3 separate regions of the Homo sapiens genome follow, and all the other regions are linked to region 1. The links are contacts of gene promoters, found by promoter capture Hi-C in blood cells and fetal thymus (Javierre and others, 2016). All regions are on one chromosome and are shown on one strand. Each heading gives the region's core, a stretch centred on a gene start or on the middle of the fragment in contact. The rest is flanking DNA. Distances are from core to core; before and after follow the strand shown.

Region 1 (2,768 bases), core at 116-2,615:
CATGAATATTTGTAGTAGCTTTATTCATAATTGCCCAAACCTGGGAGCAACCAAGATGTCTTTCCATAGGTGAATGGATAAATAAACCATGGTACATCCAGACAATGGAATACCATTCAGTGTTAAAAAATAAGTGAGCTGGCCATGCAAGGTGGCTCACGTCTGTAATCCCAGCACTGTGGGAGGCAGAGGCAGGCGGATCACTTGAGCCCAAGTGTTTGATACCAGTGTGGGCAACATGGTGAGGCCCTGTCTCACAAAAAATACAAAACTTATCGGGGTGTGCACCAGCACCTGTAGTCCCAGCTATTTGGGAGGCTGAGGTGAGAAAATCACAGGAGCCCAGGAGGTTGAGGCTGTAGTAGCTGTGATTTCACCAGTGCATTCCAGCCTGGGTGACAGAGCAAGACTCTGTCTCAAAAAAAAAAAAAAAAAAAAAAAGAAGTGAACTATCAAACCACAAAAGACATGGAAGAACCAAAGTGCGTATTACTAAAAAAGAAGTTGAAAAGGCTACATAATGTATGAGTCCAGCTCTGTGACATTTTGGAAAAGGCAAAATTAAGGAGACAGTCAAAAGATTCCTGGTTGCCAGGGGCTGGGAGAGGGAGTGATGAAAATGCAGAACACAGATGAATCGGGGCGGAGAAACCCGTCTGTACAATATTAGAGTGGTGGGTCTGCATGATTATACATGTGTCCAAACCTGCAGAATGCACAGCACCGGAGGAAAGCATAATGGAAACTGCAGAGGGCGATGATGATAATAACAACGTGTAACAAATGGCTGGGACGGGAGGACTGGGGAAGGCTGTGCACCTGCAGGAGCAGGGGAGCGGTGGGAGAGCTCCATGCTTTTGGCTCAATTTTGCTATGAACCTAAAACTGCTGTAAAAAATAGAGTCTACTGAAAAAACAAGTGTTAATTTATAAGCGTCTTGTTTAAAGAGCGAAGAGATGAACCACAAAGGGGAAAATGTGTTTAAACAATAACTAATTGACAATTGGCTGGTTCTTAAAATTCAGAGAACTTTAAGACAGAGACAGCAAAGCAGGGATCACGTTTTACAAACGCGGCAGGACCAGGACGTCGTGCCCACGACGGGCCAGCAACCACAGGCTGGATGCTCACCCTGTGCCAGCCTGCAGACGGAGAGCACCCACCCCAATCTCCAGCCCCCAGAGGAGCTGCCTCTCCAGGGCCTTCCTGCAGGTGCCCAGGGGCTGCACATGGCCCTCCTTGGAGGGAGCTGGTGACTCAGCACTTTCATTTCCTGGAAACTGAGGCTCATGGGAGATATGCAGATGAGCCCAGAGCACCATGGGAAATGGCCCTTTATATACCCAAATGGGCTCTGCCTCCTCCTTTCCCTGGGTGCCCACATGAACAGAGACACCAGGATGGTGAGATCTCCCGAGGAGGGGTCTCTGAGGAGGGGTCTCGGAGACACGGCCTGGTGCTGGGTGAGGGGTTGGGAGGCTGAAGCGGGGCCAGGATTCCTCAGGTTCCCTCAGTTTCCCTCAAATTTCCCTCAGTTTCCCTCAGGTTCCCTAAGGTTCTCCAAGTTCCCTCAAATTTCCCTCAGTTTCCCTCAGGTTCCCTCAGTTTCCCTCAAGTTTCCCTCAGTTTCCCTCAGGTTCCCTCAGTTTCCCTCAGGTTCCCTCAGTTTCCCTCAAGTTTCCCTCAGTTTCCCTCAGGTTCCCTCAGTTTCCCTCAAGTTTCCCTCAGGTTCCCCCAGTTTCCCTCAAGTTTCCCTCAGCTTCCCTCAGGTTCCCCCAGTTTCCCTCAGGTTCCCTCAGTTTCCCTCAAGTTTCCCTCAGTTTCCCCCAGTTTCCCTCAAATTTCCCTCAGTTTCCCTCAGGTTCCCTCAGTTTCCCCCAGCTTCCCTCAGGTTCCCTCAGTTTCCCTCAAGTTCCCCTCAGTTTCCCCCAGTTTCCCTCAGGTTCCCCCAGTTTCCCTCAAGTTCCCCTCAGGTTCCCCCAGTTTCCCTCAAGTTTCCCTCGGGTTCCCCCAGTTTCCCTCAGGTTCCCCCAGTTTCCCTCAGTTTCCCTCAAGTTTCCCTCAGGTTCCCCCAGTTTCCCTCAGGTTCCCTCAGTTTCCCTCAAGTTTCCCTCAGGTTCCCCCAGTTTCCCTCAGGTTCCCTCAGGTTCCCCCAGTTTCCCCCAGGTTCCCCCAGTTTCCCCCAGTTTCCCTCAAGTTTCCCTCAGGTTCCCCCAGTTTCCCTCAGGTTCCCTCAGTTTCCCTCAAGTTTCCCTCAGGTTCCCCCAGTTTCCCTCAGGTTCCCTCAGTTTCCCTCAGGTTCCCCCAGTTTCCCCCAGGTTCCCCCAGTTTCCCCCAGTTTCCCTCAAGTTTCCCTCAGGTTCCCCCAGTTTCCCTCAGGTTCCCTCAGGTTCCCCCAGTTTCCCCCAGTTTCCCTCAGGTTCCCCCAGTTTCCCTCAGGTTCCCTCAGTTTCCCTCAGGTTCCCCCAGTTTCCCTCAGTTTCCCCCAGTTTCCCTCAAGTTTCCCTCAGGTTCCCCCAGTTTCCCTCAGGTTCCCTCAGTTTCCCTCAGGTTCCCCCAGTTTCCCTCAGGTTCCCTCAAGTTTCCCTCAGGTTCCCCCAGTTTCCCTCAGGTTCCCTCAGGTTCCCTCAGTTTCCCTCAGGTTCCCCCAGTTTCCCTCAGTTTCCCCCAGTTTCCCTCAAGTTTCCCTCAGGTTCCCCCAGTTTCCCTCAGGTTCCCCCAGTTTCCCTCAGGTTCCCTCAGTTTCCCTCAGGTTCCCCCAGTTTCC
Region 2 (2,768 bases), core at 75-2,574, 270 kb after region 1:
CGGCTCACCGCAAGCTCCGCCTCCCGGGTTCAAGCAATTCTCCTGCCTCAGCCTCCCAAGTAGCTGGGACTATGGGCACCCGCCACCACATCCAGCTAAGTTTTGTATGTTTAGTAGAGATGAGGTTTCACCACGTTGACCAGGATGCTCTCTATCTCCTGACCTCGTGATCCGCCCGCCTTGGCCTCCTAAAGTGCTGGGATTACAGGCGTGAGCCACTGCGCCCGGCCGACTGTTCTGTCTTGACTGTGACGGTGGCTACACAACTGTTTACAATGACGGAAATTTATTGAAGTTTTTTTTTTTTGAGATAGAGTCTTGCTCTATCGCCCAGGCTGGAGTGCAATGGTGTGATCTCGGCTCACTGCGACCTCTACCTCCTGGGTTCAAGTGATTCTCCTGCCTCAGCCTCCCAAGTAGCTGGGACTACAGGTGCCCGCCACCACGCCCGGCTAATTTTTTGTATTTTTAGTAGAGACAGGGTTTCACCGTGTTAGCCAGGATGGTCTTAATCTCCTGACCTTGTGATCCGCCCGCCTCGGCCTCCCAAAGTGCTGGGATTACAGGAGTGAGCCACCGCGCCCGGCCACAAATGGTATTCTTAAAACGAGTCAGTTTTTTGTAAATTTTACCCTAACAAAGCCAGAGGCAAAACCCCCAATATAAAAAGATATGAAGATGGTACAATAAATGACAAAGTCAAACACAATCAATCCTCCAATTCAGAAGACAAGGGAAGGAAAGGCTTGAGTCCAGAACTCAGTGGCTCCCGAAGTGGTGAAAACATAGGTTCCTGGTTCACTGTGGAGGTTCTGAGAGCCCATAGTCACTGGGTGGGAGGGGACAGGGGCCCCCACTCTGTGACTCTGGTCAGAAGGTAGTTTGGGGATGCTGAGCTGTGGGTCCTGGAAGGTCCATCTCCTCTGGAGGCCCCTCTGTGCTCAGGATTGCTCTCGCCAAGCACTTTGCTCAGAGACCTGCTTGGAGAAGGGAGTGCCCAGCACAGGCATCTCCATGTGGACCCATTTCCCATCGCCACCCGTCTGCTCAATCTCTCACCTTTGGGGTTATAGCAGGTTTCGAAGACGTGCAACTGATGGGGATTGTGTGTGAATGTGAACACCTTAATCATGGAGTCCAAAACCACCACAATTCTGGAAAGAAAAACATGATCAGAGTTGCTTTCCTCAAGAGTCAAACCCAAACATTTTATGCTCCTGTTCTTATCATACTGAAACTGAGAAACACTGAAAATACCACACAGAAAAGGAGTGTTCCTGAAGAAAAAGCTCTGGAGGCAGGTAGCCAGCGCCAGGCCTGGAGCTCGGCGAGTGCACGTGGGCTGGCTCTGCTGAGGGAGTGCTTCTCGCCTGGGTGAAGGTCAGCCTAAGAGACGTCTCTGAGGTTCAGAGAGACATCATCAAACACTCCATCTAGGTTCAGAACCGAGCAAAACAGACAGAAGTGATATTTTTATGCTACTGTGTCTGGAAAAAATAAGAAAAGTCTGAAAGTAGAATATCCTCGATCTGGCTCAAGCGTTTGCATTATTATTATTATTACTTTTTTTTTATAGATGGAGTCTCACTCTGTCGCTCAGGCTGGAGTGCAGTGGCACAACCTCAGCTCACTGCAACCTCCACCTCCAGTTCAAGCGATTCTCCTGCCTCAGCCTCCTGAGTAGGTGGGATTACAGGCGTGCACCACCATGCCCAGCTAATTTTTGTATTTTTAGTAGAGATGGGGTTTCACTAGGTTGGCCAGGCTGGTCTCTAACTCCTGACCTTGTGATCCGCCTGCCTCAGCCTCCCAAAGTGCTGGGATTACAGGCATGAGCCACGGTGCCCGGCCACATTTGCATTACTAAGGGCCTTTAAATATTGACGTTATTAAAATGACAAACCCACACAAAAATGCAGGAAAGTTGGCCGGGCGCAGTGGCTCACACCTGTAATCCCAGCACTTTGGGAGGCTGAGGCGGGTGGATCATGAGGTCAAGGGATCAAGACCATCCTGGCCAACATGGTGAAACCCTGTCTCTACTAAAGATACAAAATCAGCCAGGCTTGGTGGTGTGCGCCTGTAGTCCCAGCTACTCCGGAGGCTGAGGCAGGAATTGCTTGAACCCGGGAGGCAGAGGTTACAGTGAACTGAGATTGTGCCACTGCACTCCAGTCTGGCAACAGAGCAAGACTCTATCTCCCAAAAAAAAAAAAAAAAAAAAAAAAAGGGCAGGGAGGTGAAATGACCTCTGTTTACATCCAACTTGCTCGGCTGCTGTCCTCCCACAGCCGACAGAGATGGAAATCTTAGAGTAAAATATGCAAATCATATTAAATAAAAACCCAAATGAACGAACTCTGCGCTATCTTGCTCAACGTACTAGGACAAACTTCCATATTCCCCCTAAACGCCCCTGAGACCATGGCTGACAGAACCACCTGCTACTTTCAACACAGAAAATTCAATTTTCCTTTACCTTCAAACCGAAAACCTTTATTGAGAGGCAGCATTTGGCAAAGCAGGGGCTAAAAGCCCAGGGTAATTCAAGGCTCAAAACTCATGTCCTCAGCTCTGCACATGTCGGAATGGGACATAACTCACCACGGTGAGACCCACTGGCTGGTCCACTGTGGCGCACGTCATCCACGCCACCACCTACTTACCTCCAGCGGAGCCCTGGAAACAAACACAATTCGCTGCCTTTCTTGCAGCAATATAAATAATCCTTATATCCTTATGGTCATAAAAACCAGGACCAACATTTT
Region 3 (2,768 bases), core at 89-2,588, 260 kb before region 1:
AGGTGGCCAGCCTGCTAAGGGCCATCAAAGAAATGGAGAGGCAGGGTCCCAAAGCCGGGGCATGGAGGTGGCTGGGAGCCCTAGAGGGGGGTACTCAGCACCCATGCTCACCCGTGTTGGGGTGGGGGCCCGCTGTCCAGGCCAGCCCAAGAGCCACCAGGGCTGGGGAGGGACGAAATGGGGATAGCCTATGCTCTGGGGGAAAGGTGGCCCCTGCCCCACTGTGGACCGACCCAGCCAGTCCAACCCCTCCAGCAGGGTCCAACCTGGAGAACCACTCCTGGCCAGGACACGCAGGTGTTGCCTGGCACCCTTCACCTGCGCGGGTGAACCCACAGACGCTTGCCTCCCCATACCAACCCACACACCACAGGAGGCCCTCCCTGGAGCCCAGGTCCCTAAGACCCGGAACGGGTGCCCAGGCCGCCGGCTCCTCCTCCAGCATGAGGGCTGGTGCGGCCCTGGGGGGAGGGGGCGGAGGCCAGCGCTGGTCTGGCCACTTGCACGAGGCCCCAGGGCCTGATACGCGCGCCGCCCCTCGGCAGTGCGGCCTCCCTTGGGCCGTCCCGGCAGGGAGGCGGCCGCCTTCCCACCCGCTGCGATTCACAGAGGCTTGGCTGCCCCGGGCCAGCTCCAGGCCCGCACGCTGGGTCCTCGCCGCTTGCTATTCACGCGGGGTCGACGGCCAGGCAGGGGGTGGGAACACCGCGGCGCGCCCGGCCTCCCTTCGCCCCGGGCGGGGGCTGCTCGGGACCCCTGCGCTTCGGCCGGGCTGCGCCACGTGATGGGGAGGCCGGTCCCGGCGCGGCCCCTGCGCCCCCCCGTTCCTCCCTCGCGGCGTCCCCTTCGGGCTGGGCCTCGGCTCCGGGGCGGCTCCGGGAGGAGGATGCGGCGGCGCCTTTGTGGGCGCGGGGAGGCCGAGCCGGGGGCTCCTCCAGGCCCTTCAGGGTCCGCGGCCTCCCCCACGGGAAGCGAAGGCGGCTGTTGGTGGCTTTCCCCGGCGTCCTTCCCCCGCCATCCGCCCACCTACTCCGCGGGGCCCCGGGCGCCTCCGAAGGGGCACGAACACCGAGACCCGGACAGGCCGCCCAGGCGACCCCTGGATACGGGGCCGGGCCACGCGCGCCCCGAGAGCGGAGGATGAGGAGCCGGGCCACCCCGGGAACCCCGGGCCCAGCCCCGACCACGACCCGCGCCCCGGCCCCAGCGCCGGCTGCTCGTACCTGGTGAGGGCGCGGGCGGCGGTGCGGGCGGCGGAGAGCGAGGCTGGAGCGCGGCGGAGCGGGAGGCTGAAGCGCGGCGGAGAGGGAGGCCGGGGCCGCTGCCGTCTCTCTGGCTCCCTCTAGGCCGGCGCCGACGCTATTTAAACCGCGGCCATCCCCGGGCGGCCACGCCACATGGGCTGACAGCTTGGCTGCGCCGCCCAGGCCAATGAGCGTCGGGGCTGCGCCCCGGGACCCGGCGCGCCGCCGCCGGTGGGGTGATGCTCGTGCGCGCCGCCGCCCGAGCCGGGACCCTGCGCGGGAACGCGCCTGGGGGGGTGGGGCTGGGACTGAGGAGCGCCGGGGGCGGGGCGGGCGGGAAACCACCGCCCCCCGACTTCCGCCTCCCGCCCCGCGGGCCCCGACGCGCACGCGGCTGCGACCGAGCCCGCGGCGCGCCTCCCGAGCCATCCCCGACCCCCGTGTCCGCCGGGGCCACGTGTGCGGGATGGGAATGCTTGGGCCACACTGGGGACTACCCCGTGGCCACACCGGGGGTCCAGCCGGCTGCGGCGGGGCGCTCGGACCCACAGGCGCGCGGAAGGACGGACGGACCCGCGTGCCCGCACTTCGGCCGCCGACTCCACGCCGCCGTCGCTGCCCGCGCGGAGCTGGCTGAGGGCGCGGCGTTGCGCGGCGCGGCGGCAGCAGCAACCAATCGGGCGCCAGGGGTGTTCGCACCGGCCCAATGGCGGCGCGCGGGTGGGCGTTGCTAGGCGATAGGGTGATGGGCGGGCGGCGGGGCGGTCCCGGATGCCTCGCGGGCCGCGGCGCAAGTGCGGGCGTTGACCCCGGCCGCGGGCGCCCCGGCCGGGGTTACTGCCGGTCATCGCAGCGCATCCCCGGTTTTCCTCGCGGGTGCGGCGGGGAACCCAGACCCGAGACGGACGTCCACCCACCCGACGGCCCCTCCTTAGCAGCTTCCCGGGGACCCGGACGAGGCGCAGGGCCGAACGGGCGAGCGCACTCCAGGCCGCTGGAGCTCGGCGGAGGGGAGGGGCGCGGCCACGTGGCGAGCGGAGTCGGCCGGGACACCCACCTGGTGTGGTGCGGACAAAGGGAGCCGCTGCCCCACTTCCCAGGGCGGAGGCTGCGAGTTTTCCAGGCGCGCACCCACGGGCGGGGGCTCAGCCCGGCCCTCGCGCGCTCCCTCCCTCCCGAGTGATTCCTCGAATCGTGGCCCCTTGGGCGGCCTGAGCCCTGAAGCGCGGCCTCCCTTTTCTGACCGCTTCGCGCTTGCGGGGCCAGGCACCCCATGGGGGGCAAGCGGGCCTTGTGAGGCCACAGGTGTCTCTGGCTGCGTGTCCTACTTTGAGGGCTCAGCAAGCCCGGGCCGCTGAAGGGGAACCGGAGACTGGGGCCCCCGGCCCCTCTGCAGGTGTCCCGCTTCCTTCCTCTCCTGAGAGCAGGCCTGAGGGTCAGGCGGCCACTCCGCGTCTTTTCCCTTCTGGGGCTGTGGTTGACGCACGGTGGGACCGAGGGTCAAGGAAGGACAAGGGAAGACAG

What was found. Contacts are between HindIII fragments. The CHiCAGO score rates a contact against its expected background, and 5 or more counts as called.
Region 2: a contact is called between a fragment that was not itself captured here and the fragment with the promoter of TEX19 in region 1, in 1 of 17 cell types (activated CD4 T cells). The highest score is 5.1, in activated CD4 T cells.
Region 3: a contact is called between the fragment with the promoter of FASN here and the fragment with the promoter of TEX19 in region 1, in 8 of 17 cell types (neutrophils, non-activated CD4 T cells, monocytes and 5 more). The highest score is 13.3, in neutrophils.

What each region holds. Positions count from the first base shown.
Region 1 is chr17:82,357,882-82,360,649 of GRCh38, forward strand. TEX19 (testis expressed 19) reads left to right here and starts at 1,366. Exons shown (of 2, transcript NM_207459.4): 1 at 1,366-1,404. RefSeq lists a silencer at 2,552-2,768. The HindIII fragment of the contact is 12,499 bases long and covers 1-2,768 here.
Region 2 is chr17:82,624,330-82,627,097 of GRCh38, forward strand. It overlaps WDR45B (WD repeat domain 45B), which reads right to left. Exons shown (of 10, transcript NM_019613.4): 5 at 1,060-1,154. Among named protein-coding and RNA genes, the nearest start is that of WDR45B, 23 kb to the right of the region's middle. The HindIII fragment of the contact is 5,498 bases long and covers 1-2,768 here.
Region 3 is chr17:82,096,898-82,099,665 of GRCh38, forward strand. FASN (fatty acid synthase) reads right to left here and starts at 1,339. Exons shown (of 43, transcript NM_004104.5): 1 at 1,224-1,339. RefSeq lists an enhancer at 1-563 and silencers at 432-481, 542-751, 772-961, 1,032-2,511. The HindIII fragment of the contact is 59,862 bases long and covers 1-2,768 here.